Regions from separate parts of the Homo sapiens genome. Here regions 1 and 2 are each linked to region 3. The links are contacts of gene promoters, found by promoter capture Hi-C in blood cells and fetal thymus (Javierre and others, 2016). All regions are on one chromosome and are shown on one strand. The core of a region is centred on a gene start or on the middle of the fragment in contact, and the rest is flanking DNA. Distances in the headings are between cores, read along the strand shown. Region 1 overlaps XKR5 (XK related 5). Region 2 has its middle 17 kb from the start of GS1-24F4.2. Region 3 holds the start of DEFA5 (defensin alpha 5).

Region 1 (4,243 bases), core at 1,453-3,952, 230 kb before region 3:
AGCCAGGTGAGGAGTGCTGGATTGGCCACGATATGAATTTCTTCAGCAGTGAGGAATGTGAGGATGGGTGGAGCCCCCATAAGGAGAGATCTGGATGACCAGTTGTGGTTGAGGGACTGGAAGTGGCCAGAAGAGACTGTGTGAAGACAGCATAGACCAAGGACAGCACCCTGGGGACTGTTCCCACTAAGGGGCCTGGATACGAAAGGGACACCAGCAAGGGTGGGTGGAAGCCGAGAACCAGGCAGCGGAGAGAGCTGCTGATCTCTGCACTGTGGATTACAGGATGGGGTGGCCCAGGGCCACGGGGACACATCTGCTCACCCAGCCTGGGTGGTCCTCCGAGGCTCTCGGAAAAGGAATCAAGCAACAAGAAAGAAGTCAGAACATGTCCTTGCTTCAGTCTGTTTCCCATGAGCCTATGCCAGGCACCTTTACTGGAAACTTCATCTCATAAGTAGAAAGTGGCACAGACCACCTTCCTTACAACCTGAAGATCCACATAGAACCCATGACCACGAAGCCACTCCCCACCACACCAGCGGGCTCTCAGGCTTCGAGTCTCACCTGGAGGTCAGATTTCGCCACCACCCACCAATTCCTCTCTGGGTCTACCTAGCAGCAGCAATAAGGAGATGACCACAGCCGCCTGCACACGAGCCTGCTGCCCAGCAAACCCACTGGATTCTGCTTCCCTGTCTTGTTCAATTTAAGAACTAGAGGTCACTTCAATTTAGCAACTCCTGAAGCCAAGCTGGATGCATCTCGAAGGTCACCTGCAAAACTCCCTGTAGAGACCCCTAAGGCTCTGACTGGCAGGTGACAAGCTGGACCCTGATGGGTGGCAAACATTTCTATGTCCAGAGCAGAAGATTCGGGGACTCCTCTTTGAAATGGCTTTATTCATGGTGCTGAGATCCCAGGACAGATGTCTAAGAAAAACAACTTTCCTTTTTCATGATTTGGAATCCTGGAGTGAACCCATTTCTTACTGTGTCTTGATTCCTGACATAAACTTAATGTTAAGAAAAACATATGACACTAAAAAATGTAACCATGAGGGCAGGCAGTAGTTTTCTTTTCACTCTCAAATCATTTGTTCCTGACATGGGGTAGTTTCCTCTTCTTGCTCTTCCAGAAAGCTTTGTTTGTTCAACATGCATTTTTCTTGGGCTTTGAGAGGCCCACCTGCTACAGACCACAGGCGAAGTAAGAGAAATGAATCCCAGCTTTTTGGGAGGCCAAGGCAGGAGGATTGCTTGAGCTTGGGAGTTTGAGACCAGCCCTGGCAACATAATGAGACTCCATGTCTACAAAACAAAACAAAACAAAGAGCTGGGATAGTGGTGGGTGCCTGTAGTCCCAGCTACTCAGGAGGCTGAGATGGGAGGATCACTTGAGCCCAGAAGTTCAAGGCTGCAAGTGAGCCATAATTATGCCACTGCACTCCAGCCTGGGTGACAGAGGCAGAAGACTCTCGTGAAAAAAAAGAAAAGGGGGGAAGTGAAATGAAAGATGTCTTTTAGAAACCTAAGATTCAGTGTGGAAAGAAAACATACAAATGCGAAAAGCTTCAAGAGGAAGAAATATAAGTATCAACATGAGTGGCTTGGGTAGTGGTGGAATCAGAGTCACAGGCAGAGAGAATAAGGTGGTCAGGGAATGCTTCCTGGAAGAGGAGGACAGGCAAACTCTGGACAGGTAGATGGTAGGAAGAGCCTAAAGGAGTGTCTGGGGTCAGTGGCACAGGGTACAAGGCACTGAAATGAAGGTCCATGTCTGGGAATAGCGAATATCTGGTGCTTGGTAAGGCGGGGGCCAGGAGAGGCTGAGTTGTGGGGCTACTCTTGTAAGAAACAGAGGACCAGTGGGAAGGTGACTAGCCCGGTTTTCTGAAACGAGCTGTCTCGAACCCATTGCAGAGGGAGAAATTCAGGCTGAGACCCCTGGACAGCCACTAGGGAAGCCGGGGAGGAAGCTGAGGCGGGATGGAGAGCGTGGGGATTTGGTCACTAGGTCCTATGAGATGGTGTCCGACATCTGTCCTCACAGTCGCTGCATCATTCCAGGTCCTTATCAGCACTTGCCTGGATTTCTGGCTGCCTGCATGGACCCCGTCCCTCCCAACTCTGTTGCATTTTATTGTCCCTGGTGCCATCTGTCTACAGGCTCATTTGCCCATATTATTCCTTTGCTCAAACCCTTCCAACAGGTCTCCAATGCCTGAGGATAAAATCCAAACTCCTTAATCCAGTAGAAAAGTTTCTTCATGGTCCAGCCCATTTATCTCCTGCCACATTCCTGCCATCTAGGAAATTCTTACCCTTTAGTCTCAAGAACCTCATCCTAATTTCCCATATACACCACTTCTGGCACGCATCTATGTCTTTGCACCAGCGGCTGCAGCTTGCTGTGTCGGAAACGCCTGTTCCCTCCCTACATTGATGGAAATCGCAACAGCCTTCAAGCCTCACTCGAGGGATCCTGAGGCAGGACTGGGCCCTCCAGGGCTAGGGCTATATTTTATATACTTTTAAATATTAAATCTCCACCCATTTATGCTGAACCTGTCTTACATACCTTTAGAGTTTACCTTAACTTTCCTTTTGACAACCTTGAACTTTCACTAAAGAAAAATTGCTAAACCAAGGTGCATGCTAAGGATGAGATAGGCCTTCTTCTGTCATCTCATGCTGCATTTACAAGTGGATTTGTGGGCTTAAAAAGAAAGATGAAAAAGATGTTGGTAACATACAGTATTAAAGTGTAAGTAAAAAACCTAAGTAGAAGAAAGTAATGGTCTTTGTTTAAATAAGTGGTCACCAATGTCAGGTTCTCTTGAACAGAGTCAGACTTAAAATGAACATAGTATGTATTATTGGGAACGTTAAAAAGAATACACTTATGGCTTAAATCCTTGCCTTTTTATATTTATTTATTTATTTGAGATTGAGTCTCATTCTGTTGCCTAGGTTGGAGTGCAGTGGCGTGATCTCAGCTCACTGTAACCTCTACTTCCCAGGTTCAAGCGATTCTCATGCTTCAGTCTCCTGAGTAGGTGGCATTACAGGTGTGCGTGACCACGCCTGGCTAATTTGTCTATTTTTAGTGGAGATGGGGTTTCGACAGTGTTGGCCAGGCTGGTTTAGAACTCCTGGCCTCAAGAGATCAGCCTGCCTCCACCTCCTAAAGCACTGAGATTACAGGTGTGAGCCGTCACGCCAGGCCAAATTCTTGCTTTTTTTTTTTTTTTTTTTTTTTTTTTTTGAGACGGAGTCTCGCTCTGTCACCCAAGCTGGAGTCCAGTGATGCAATCTCGGCTCACTGCAAGTTCCGCCTAACGGGTTCATGCCATTCTCCTGCCTCAGCCTCCCAAGTAGCTGGGACTACAGGCGCCCGCCACCACGCCCGGCTAATTTTTTGTATTTTTAGTAGAGACGGGGTTTCACCGTGTTAGCCAGGATGGTCTGGATCTCCTGACCTCGTGATCCGCCTGCCTCGGCCTCTCAAAGTGCTGGGATTACAGGCGTGAGCCACCGCGCCAGGCCTCAATCCTTGCATTTTTATAAGCAACTTTGTGTTTTACTGGATTCTCAGTTAGCAGATTCTTTTGTATTTTGTGATGAGGACACTCAAAGTGACCTATTCTTAGGCAATTCAAAATTGTGCCAAACGCAATTGTTTTGGCTCCCCCTACAGGTCCTTTTCTAGAATTGCAATTTGGAAAGCTGGATTGCCTCACTAAAAATACTGCTTCACTCAGTGTTGTCTTTGAACCCTATGTGCTAGTTTCAGGATGAGGAATGGATCCACTGCTGTCTATTTTAACTTTCAAAGCTTTCCTCTATGGAAGTAAATTTCTGTTTTTTGGTTCATGTTTAACCTGAGAAACACTGCAAATCTTGCGGCCTTTATGCTTGCACTGGCTGTTATAAACCTTAGGGCCAAATTGTGACCCGCTTCCGATAGCTGTGCATTCTGGCTCTATCTTGTTTTCTAACATTTCATCTCGATACCTGGCCTTTCTCATTTCTTTTCTTTTCTTTTTTGTTCTTTTAAGGATGTGTATTTTTAAAGTCATCTTAACTTCTTTTTCAAAACAAGAATAAATATATATGACTAATGGTTTTTCCTAATTTATAATTTTCATGTATCTCTTCACTTATCTATATGATTTCACTAGTATATACCAGATTATTCAAGTTCGTTTTTTTATATACACCAGAAAATCATGGCATCACTT
Region 2 (4,767 bases), core at 1,565-4,064, 200 kb before region 3:
TTTTCACATAGTCCCATATTTCTTGGAGACTTTGTTCATTTCTTTTTATTCTTTTTTCTCTAAACTTCCCTTCTCGCTTCATTTCATTCATTTAGTCTTGCATCACTGATACCCTTTCTTCCAGTTGATCGCATTGGCTTCTGAGGCTTCTGCATTCTTCACATAGTTCTCGAGCCTTGGCTTTCATCTCCATCAGCTCCTTTAAGGACTTCTCTGCATTGGTTATTCTAGTTATCCATTCGTCTAATTTTTTTTCACAGTTTTTAACTTCTTTGCCGTTGGTTTGAATTTCCTCCTGTAGCTCGGAGTAGTTTGATCGTCTGGAGCCTTCTTCTCTCAACTCGTCAAAGTCGTTCTCCATCCAGCTTTGTTCCTTTGCTGGTGAGGAGCTGCATTCCTCATATATAAATGCAGAAATCACCTGTCTTCTGCGTCGCTCACGCTGGGAGCTGTGGACCAGAGCTGTTCCTATTCGGCCATCTTGGCTCCACCCGAGAATGAATCTTATCTGCACAGGGAGTGCTTTCCGATTGAGCAGCTCCATTCCTACCCTTCTGCTGGCCAGCCACACGTTTAGATGGGAAAGACCTCATATTTAGCTCCAAGGGTGGACGCTTGGCCTACATACCTGACCACAGAGGTCAATGGGCCTCAGGGAACACAGACAGCCAGGGCCAGAAGAGGGATGGAAATGTCTGTCAACTTCTCATTTAAAGAATTTGAAGGTGATCTCTGTTGTGGCCCTGCACAGAACCAACCTGCTTGGTGCTGACTTCTGCAGTGAGAAGTCAGCTCACTGCAGAAGTTAGTACCAAGTATCCACCTGTTCCACAAAGCCAGATTCTAGGACAGCTGGTGACAGACAACTCAGCGAGGGGAGACCAGGGGCCCAGGGCAGGTCACTGCAAGGGGAATTCCCACACACCAGAACCCACTTCCCACCATACATATGCAGATGCACACACCCATAGCTGCACATGTATGTGTGCACTCATACATGCACACACACACACACATGCATACCCAGTCACACTGGAAGATGCACACATGAACATACATGCCTGCCTGCACACACCTACATGCACATACACCCCATACACACACCTGCACATGCACACCTGCGCATATACACACATGCACACCTGCACACACCTACATGCACATGCACCCCATACACTCAACCTGCACATGTGCCTCTGCACATATACAGACATGCACACCTGCACACATATGCACATGCACCCCATACACTCATACCTGCACATATACACATATGCACACTTGCACATAGACACAAATGCATACCTGAACACACCTATATGCACACACACACCACATACACTCATACCTGCACATGTGCCCCTGCACATATACACACATGCACACCTGCACACACCTACATGCACACACACCCCACACACTCACTCCTGCACATGCGCACCTGCACATATACACACATGCACACCTGCACTTCCTGCACCTGCATGCACACACACCCCATACACTCCTGCACATGCACACCTGCACATATACACACATGCACACCTGCACACACCTACCTGCACATGCACCCCATACACTCACACCTGCACTTGTGCCCCTGCACGTATACACACACGTGCACCTGCACACACCTACATGCACGCACACACCCCATACAATCACACCGGCACATGCGCACCCGCACATATACACACATGCACACCCACACACACACCTATATCCACACACATCCTGTACACTCATTCCTGCACATACACACACATGCACACCTGCACACACCTACATGCACACTCGTACCCTCAAATGCAGATGCACACTTGCACAAATACATGCACACTTGCACACACTCATACATACACTTGCACATGCACACGTCGATACATGCACACCTGCATAAACCTACATGCATACGTGCACACTTATACACTGATATACATGCAGATACACATGCACACCTGCACACACTCAAGCATGCATGCACGCACACCCCATACACTCACACACATCCACATGCATATACATGCACACCTGCAAACACCCACGCCCACATATGCACACACACACACACACACACACGGTCTGAGTGTCTGTTTTCCCATTTACTAGTAGGAGGGTGTCTGCAGAGGGCATCTCTGTCTCCTGCAGGAATCCGTTTTCACCTTAGCTGGATCAGGGTTATCCCGTGACTCCCTCTCTTAACCTGGGAAGCTTTCTGAATCCAACCTTTGGGGCCAAGTGGAAACTTCTTTGGGCTTCCTCGTCTCTGTACCAGCTGGAGACCCAGGCAAGAGGGGTTCTTCTCGGGCCTGGGGTTAAGAGGTCTTCTGTCTGGCCAGATCTATGTCCCTTCTCATTAATCATTCTCTGGGCTCCTATGACCTAAGAATTACTTGCCCCCAGCCTTCGTCTAGGGCCTTTGGAAGTTTCTTCCTTGGGTTGGAACCCCAAGGTGAGACGTGCTCCCAGGGTGTGTCATAGGCCAAGTGGTGGCTGCTGTGAGACTGTGACACAGCTTAGAGATGCAAGCCAAGAGGTCCTGTGTGGGAGTGCATGAGACCCTGGAGGCTGAGGATGGTCTTGGCTGTAGGGAGAGAAAGGGGAGGGGCTGCAAGCCAAGGCCCTGCCCTCTTTGTGCTGTCTGATTCTGGTGCGGGAGTTGTGGGAGTGCAAGGATCCTACATTTTTCCTGGAGGTCCAGGTTGTCTTGGAAGTATATTTGTTTAGGGTGGGAGGATAGAACACGTTTTAGTCAACAGTGTGATAGTTTGATTTATAGCTGTTAAATATTAGTCTCTTGGCACATAAGTCTCTGTTTGTTCTTCCCCACTATTCTCAAATATTTGTGGTGGGACTGAGCGGCCTGCAGGGAAAATCACTCATCCATCCCAGGGCAGGACTGCAGCTTCTGCCTGCATTGACAGTAGGGCTCAGTGCTTCTCAAATTATGGGTGTTTCCTGAGTCTCTAAACCTTGGAGTCTTTGTGCACTTCTACAACCTCCTCGCTTGGCTTCTCCCTCTTATCAGCTGCTAAGTCTTTCCACACAGCCTGTCAAAGGGAGAAAGACATGTTTCTAACTGCCCGCATTCTGTTCTGCTGCATTTCTCATGGTTTATCTGATCTCTGAACTGGGCCCCATCCCAGGGAGCCAGAGAAGCTGGCTTCTGCACTGGAGGAGAACCACTGCCTTCAAAACAGCCCCAACCCTTCATGTCTTGTTCCAGGAAACTTTCCCCAAGGGGAGACCACAAGTTAAATCATCTCCACCTGGTTCTTTCACTATCTTGTTTCAAGAACAAACAAGTCAAGTTGCAACGCCCACTGAAAAGAGTGGAGCAGGATGCAGTTTGTAATGCCTACCTGCCTGGGGAGCCATGGTCCAAGCACCTCCATAGACTTTCTACAACCTTCAGACAAAGCTTTCAGGACTTGACCGCAGGGAGTCCATCAACTCCCTGCTTAGCCTCAAATGTCTTCCTTGCACTCCTTGGTCTAGAAACAGCAGTGAGTTTGGAATGCTCCATCTGGCCTGTGAACCCCCAAAATCTGAGACAGGTCTCAGTTAATTTAGAAAGTTTATTTTGTCAAAGTTGGGGTTGTGTGCCTGTGAAACCGCCTCAGGAGATCCTGAGGACATGTGCCCAAGGTCTTCAGAACACAGTTTGGTTTTACACAATCTAGGGAGACAGGAGACATCAATCAACATGTGCAAGATGAACATCGGTCCGGTCTGGAAAGGCAGAACAACTTGAAGCAAAGGCGAGAAGACAAAGCAGGGAGGGGCTTCCAAATGATAGGAAGGGCTTCCAAGAATGCAAATGGTTGCATTCTTTTGAATTTCTGATGAGCCTCTCCAAAGGAGGCAATCAGATATGTATTCATCTCAGTGAGCAGAGGGGTGACTGAATAGAATGGGAGGCAGGTTGTCCCTAAGCAGTTCCCAGCCGGACCTTTCCCTTTAGCTTAGTGATTTGTTGGGGGACCCCAAGATATATTTTCCTTTTGTAGGCCCTAGATACTTCTGCTGAATTTTCCATTCTGCAGATACGGCACCTGGGTTCAATGAGGCTTCTGTCATCTCCTAGATTTGAGTTTTTGGTGTGTCAAGAGGATATGAAATTTTAGGATGCTGTGATAGAATCAGAGTTTTGCTGGCTTTAAAATATAGCACCAGAAATACAGTGAGGCCAACGGATCAGGACACGGTGCCATTGAAAAGGGAGTTTGTTAGACCCACAGATCGCAGGAGGGGCACACAGAGCAGGGGGGCCACATGGGGAAGCCTGGGGTTAGGAAGTAGATGGAGACAAAAGGAACTGTGGGCGAGAGCCTTTCTTGTGATTTCCATGGGAAGAAATGAGAAGACAGGGCAAGCAGGTTTGGGATTTGCTAGTATGAATAATTTCAGCAGTTCTGGGGCACAGAGGGTGTCCCTAGTCGTCTGGTACCTGGCCCAGGGTAGATAAGGGCTGGTGGATAGAGACCAGAGCATGAGAGCCTCCCGAAGAGGGCAACTGGGGGTGTGGACTTTTGATTGGTTGGTTTGCATTTGAAAGGGGTGCTCCTGGGAGAGTTGCCTACTATCTCTAAGAATTGGCTGACTCTGAGGGGGCAAGTCCCCAGATATCAAGGCATGAGAATTCAGACAACAAGAGATACGGCGAATCCACTGCTCCAACATGCCTTCCCTCAGCCGTGGCTTGGCAGTGGCTCTCAGCAGGTAAACTGTACTCCCTGACCCGCCGACACAGGGCCTGACAGTGTG
Region 3 (4,825 bases), core at 646-3,145:
TTGGGGGGCTGAGGAGAGCAGATCACTTAAGCTCAGGGGTTCGAGACCAACCTGGGCAATATGGTGAAACCCTGTCTCTACAAAAAAATACAAACCATTAGTAGGGTGTGGTGGCACATGCCTGTAGTCCCAGCTACTCAAGAGGCTGAGGTGGGAGGATCATTTGAGCACAGGAGGTCAAGGCTGCAGTGAGCCGAGATTGCACCGCTGTACTCCAGCTTGGGTGGCTAAGTTAGACACTGTCTCAAACAACAACAATAAAAAACCCAATTATATTCATTTTTGTTATTTTGTTATTGCTCTATGATGCTCAAATTGTGCATCATTGGAATGCAAAGACCAGTTAACTTAATGTAGATCAGAATTCTCAATACAAAGGAACCATACAAACCACCATATAACAAAGCAAAAGAAAAAAAAGGAAAAAGAAAAGAAAATTAAAAAGGTCAAACACACTAAGTTTAATGCTTGAACTTTATTTTGGAGAGAGAAATTTAGAAAGACACAAGGTACACAGAGTAAAATGTTTTTCTTTTTTCAGGACCTTGAACTGAATCTTGCACTGCTTTGGTTTCTATCTAGGAAGCTCAGCGACAGCAGAGTCTGTAGAGGCGGCCACTGATTTCACACACCCCGGAGAGGGACTCACGGGTAGCACAACGGCCGGTTCGGCAATAGCAGGTGGCTCTTGCCTGAGAACCTGTGGAAAGAAGAGAGGGTCAGGCACAGCGAGGGAGGTGGGAAAAAGGACAAGCACAGCCAGACTAACTGAGATAGTCTAAATAAGAGACACTGTATCAGTCATGTTAGGATGGAGAAAATTCATGTCTTTGTCGTAAGTGACAAGAAATCTTACTAGCTATGTGTTAGTCATGCAAGATCATAGTTTTTTTCCCCATGTGAGTCTATCCAGGATGTATTTATTACCTGCTCCCTGGTCCAACAATATACCTCTCAACCTCAGGGTTACCTACTCTTCATTCTGCTTCATCCACACGCCTAATCTTGACCTCCATGTGTGATTTCCAGGTCCTAACAAGGCTCCCTAAAGCACCTGAATCAGTTTCTGAAATGCCGCATTGTGCATGCTAATGTCATGGACCAAATACTTTGGTGCTCAAGGAGTCTTTGAAGACTTTCCAAATTCAAATTCTTCATTCTCTGTCTCTCCTTTTTTTTTTTTTTTTTTTTTTTTTAACATTTTACATATTTACTTGTTTTAATTGACAAACAATAATTGTGTATATGTATGAGACACAATATGATGTTTTGATCTAAGGATGTATTGTAGAAAGATTTAATCAAGCCTATTAGCCTACATCAAAACACACCTATAGGTTCCTCTCTAGGTTCTAAAAGCTTTTCCAATGGACAAAGTAAAACACTCTCTATATAACTAAGTCTGCCCATTTAGATCTACAAAGAACTAGTCAGTGTAGCTCTTTCTATCTTAAAAGTAGCAAATTTCACAGAAATATCTTGGAACTGAAAGTCTTAGAAAAAAGAAAATCTTTTAGATTTATTTGGTTCTCACTGATTAATTTATAGATGAGAAAATCAAGGTCCAGGAAGATTAAGTAAAGTCACTCAAGTGAGGTAGACCTTTCCACACTTGACTCCAGATCCTTTCTCCAATCCTTTTTTTCTAGATTTTGCAGATGTGCAAGATTGATGTCTCCTACCTGAGGTTCTAAGAGCAGAGAGTCCATTTCCTGCAAAGGAGATAGCAAGGTCCTGGTTGTCTTCCCCAGACTGCTTCTGGGTTGTAGCCTCATCAGCTCTTTCCTGGAGTGACTCAGCCTGGGCCTGCAGGGCCACCAGGAGAATGGCAGCAAGGATGGCGATGGTCCTCATGGCTGGGGTCACCTGCAGGAGGGAGAGCAGGAGTGGATATGTGGGGAGTGAGGAGTCAGCCTGGATTTATAGCTCTGCTGGGAGAAGACCTGAGACAGAAGCTGCAGTGAGAGGAGGTGGGCATGTGATTGGGAGGGGAAGGACTGCCTTTGTTCTCAAGATCCCTTTGATGCTCCTCTTTCTCCCAGCTTTCATCAAAGCGTGAGTCTGTATGCTTAATGCCTCTTCTTGATCCAAGGTGTTAATGATGATAAGGGTATTACTATCCTGTTCTGTTTCCCATCTGCTTGAGTATTTACTTTTATATATTCAAAAAAGAAAAACAACAGCGCTTTCATTCAAGAAGTTTGGGGATCAAATGCCTCTTGTTTTCTGAAGATGGTCCCTGGTACTCTCTGGATGACTCTCTGGGGGCAGACCTGGGACTCAGTGGAGTAGAGAGTTAATTCATTGCAGGATTCAGGGATATTACTAACCTCATGTAGGAGGCTTTTGAGATCTCGAGGTGAGTAGTCTCCCGCTGGTGCCAGTATGGAGAGGTCAATGACCTTATCAGGCTATAGGGGAAATGAGTTCAGTAAAATAGTAGGCCAAGTTTATCAGATTAAAATAAAAATTCGGATTTAGTTCAAGGAGTTGGTGTGATCTGAATGCATCACATAAAATGTGTAGCGGGTACTTCTCTCCACTTTGGGGAATATCAAAGTAATTTAGGTGCGTACAGCCCCTTTCTGAGATTTTTTTTTTAGTTTTAGAAAATTGTAAATCATGCACAAGGAACAACATTCAAAAGGTAGAAGTCATGAGCTCTCATTTCTACCCCCAGGCCTTCAGTTCTGACCCAGCAAACCATCACTATTAACAGTTACACATAGTATTCTGCACTTCGCTTTTTTCACCTGTAACATTGGCACTTTGTATATCAAAATACATGGAATGCTATTATAATTTTAATAGCCTTATACTATCCCAGGGTTTGTATATGCCATCACTTATTTTTTGTACTGATAAAATATTATAAAATTATTACAATTTGGTTATTTTTAAACTTTTGCAGTAATAAGTAAAGTTACAGTGATTATCTTGTATATATGTTCTCTTACCTATATGGATAAACTTATAGAAATAGAATTGCTGTGTCAAAGAATGCATCTTAAGCCAGCATGGTGGTACATGCCTATATTTCTAGCTATTTGAGAGGCTGAGGTGGGAGGATCACTGGAGACCAGGAGTTCGATACCAGCCTAAAAACATAGTGAGACCCCTTTCTCTTAAAAAAAAAAAAAGAGACTATATCTTACACATTTTTAAGATATTACTACATATTTCCATAATATCACCATATTTGATCCAAATCCTTTGGGGCTCAGTGGGCCCTTGGAGAGTCTCTATATTTGAATTCCTCATTTAATTTTTTTCAAATTTATTTATTTATTCATTGAAAAATAATTTTCTGTATATTTGTAGGGTATGATGTGACGTTTGGATTGATATCCACATGGGAGAAACACATAAGCTAATTAAGATAGCCATCACCTCACCAACTTAATTTTTTAAGGAGAATTACAAATTGATTCCTTTAGCAGTTTGAAAGATACAATACATCACTATTAACTGTGGTCACCGTGCAGTGCCATAGATCACTAAGACTCTCCAGCATAACTGAAACTTTGTACTCTTGGCTCAACATCTTCTCTTTTCCTATCTCACCCACCTGCAGCTTCTGATGACCACCTTTGTACTCTAGTTCCATAAAACTGACATTTTAACATTCCATGTGTAAGTGATATCATATAGTATTTGTCTTCCTGTGTCTGGTTTATTTCGTTTAGCACATTGTCCTTTGGTTCCATCCATGTTGTCATGAATGAAGAATTTCCTTCTTTTTTTTTTTTTTTTTTTTTTTTGAGACGGAGTCTTGCTGTCGCCCAGGCTGGAGTGCAGTGGTGCGATCCCGGCTCACTGCAACCTCCGCCTCCCAGGTTCACGCCTTTCTCCTGCCTCAGCCTCCTGAGTAGCTGGGAGTACAGTCGCCCGCCACCATGCTCGGCTAATTTTTTTGTATTTTTAGTAGAGACGGTGTTTTACTGTGTTAGCGAGGATGATCTCGATTTCCTGACCTCGTGATCCGCCCGCCTGGGCCACCCAAAGTGCTGGGATTACAGGAGTGAGCCACCGCGCCCTGCCAATTTCCTTCTTTTTTAAGGCTATATGGTATACCATCTTGCATGTATACCATATTTTCTTTATTCATTCATCCACTGATGAACATTTAGGCTAATTCCATATCTTGCTTATTTTGAATAATGCTGAAATGGACATGGGAGTGCAGATTCTTCTTTGATACAGTGATTTCAATTTCTTGGGAGATATACCCAGAAGTGGGATTGCTGGGTCATATGGTAATTCTATGTTCAGTGCTTTGAGGAACCGCCATACTATTTTCCAAAATGGCTGCACTAATTTACATTTCCACCAATGGCCTACAAGGGTCCCCTTTTTTTTATATCCTCACCAACACGTATTATTTGTCTACTTGTTAAAAGCCATTCTAACAGATGATTACCTCTTTATGATTTTAATTTGCATTTCCCTGATAATTAGTGATGTCGAGTGTGTTTTTCATATATCTGTGGGCCAGGTTTATTGCCCTTTTTTAAATTGAGATGTTTGTTTTCGTCTTATTGAGTGTTTGAATTCCTTATATCTTTGGGATATTAGCCCCTTATCAGATATATGGTTTGCAAACACTTTCTCCTAGTCCCTGGATCATCTTTTTGTTTCCTTTCTGTGCAGAAGTTTTTTAGTTGATGTAACCTCCTTGGTCTATTTTTGATTTTGTTGTCTTTGCTTTTGGAGTCCTGTTGTAGAAATAATTGCCCAGAAAAATGTCATAAAGATTTCCCTCCATGTTTTCTTCTAGTAGATTTACAATTTCGGGTCTTTTATGTAAGTCTTTAATCCATTTTGA

Evidence for each region. Contacts are between HindIII fragments. The CHiCAGO score rates a contact against its expected background, and 5 or more counts as called.
Region 1: a fragment that was not itself captured here is called in contact with the fragment with the promoter of DEFA5 in region 3 in 1 of 17 cell types (total B cells); the score reaches 5.4 in total B cells.
Region 2: a fragment that was not itself captured here is called in contact with the fragment with the promoter of DEFA5 in region 3 in 3 of 17 cell types (total B cells, naive B cells and fetal thymus); the score reaches 6.8 in total B cells.

Annotation. Positions count from the first base shown.
Region 1 is chr8:6,826,589-6,830,831 of GRCh38, forward strand. The region is part of intron 2 of XKR5 (XK related 5); the gene reads right to left. Among named protein-coding and RNA genes, the nearest start is that of XKR5, 6.8 kb to the right of the region's middle. The HindIII fragment of the contact is 2,266 bases long and covers 1,570-3,835 here.
Region 2 is chr8:6,849,742-6,854,508 of GRCh38, forward strand. No RefSeq gene overlaps it. Among named protein-coding and RNA genes, the nearest start is that of GS1-24F4.2, 17 kb to the left of the region's middle. The HindIII fragment of the contact is 1,210 bases long and covers 2,210-3,419 here.
Region 3 is chr8:7,054,844-7,059,668 of GRCh38, forward strand. DEFA5 (defensin alpha 5) reads right to left here and starts at 1,896. Exons shown (of 2, transcript NM_021010.3): 1 at 1,683-1,896; 2 at 461-700. The coding sequence starts at 1,854. The coding sequence ends at 588. The HindIII fragment of the contact is 6,427 bases long and covers 1,358-4,825 here.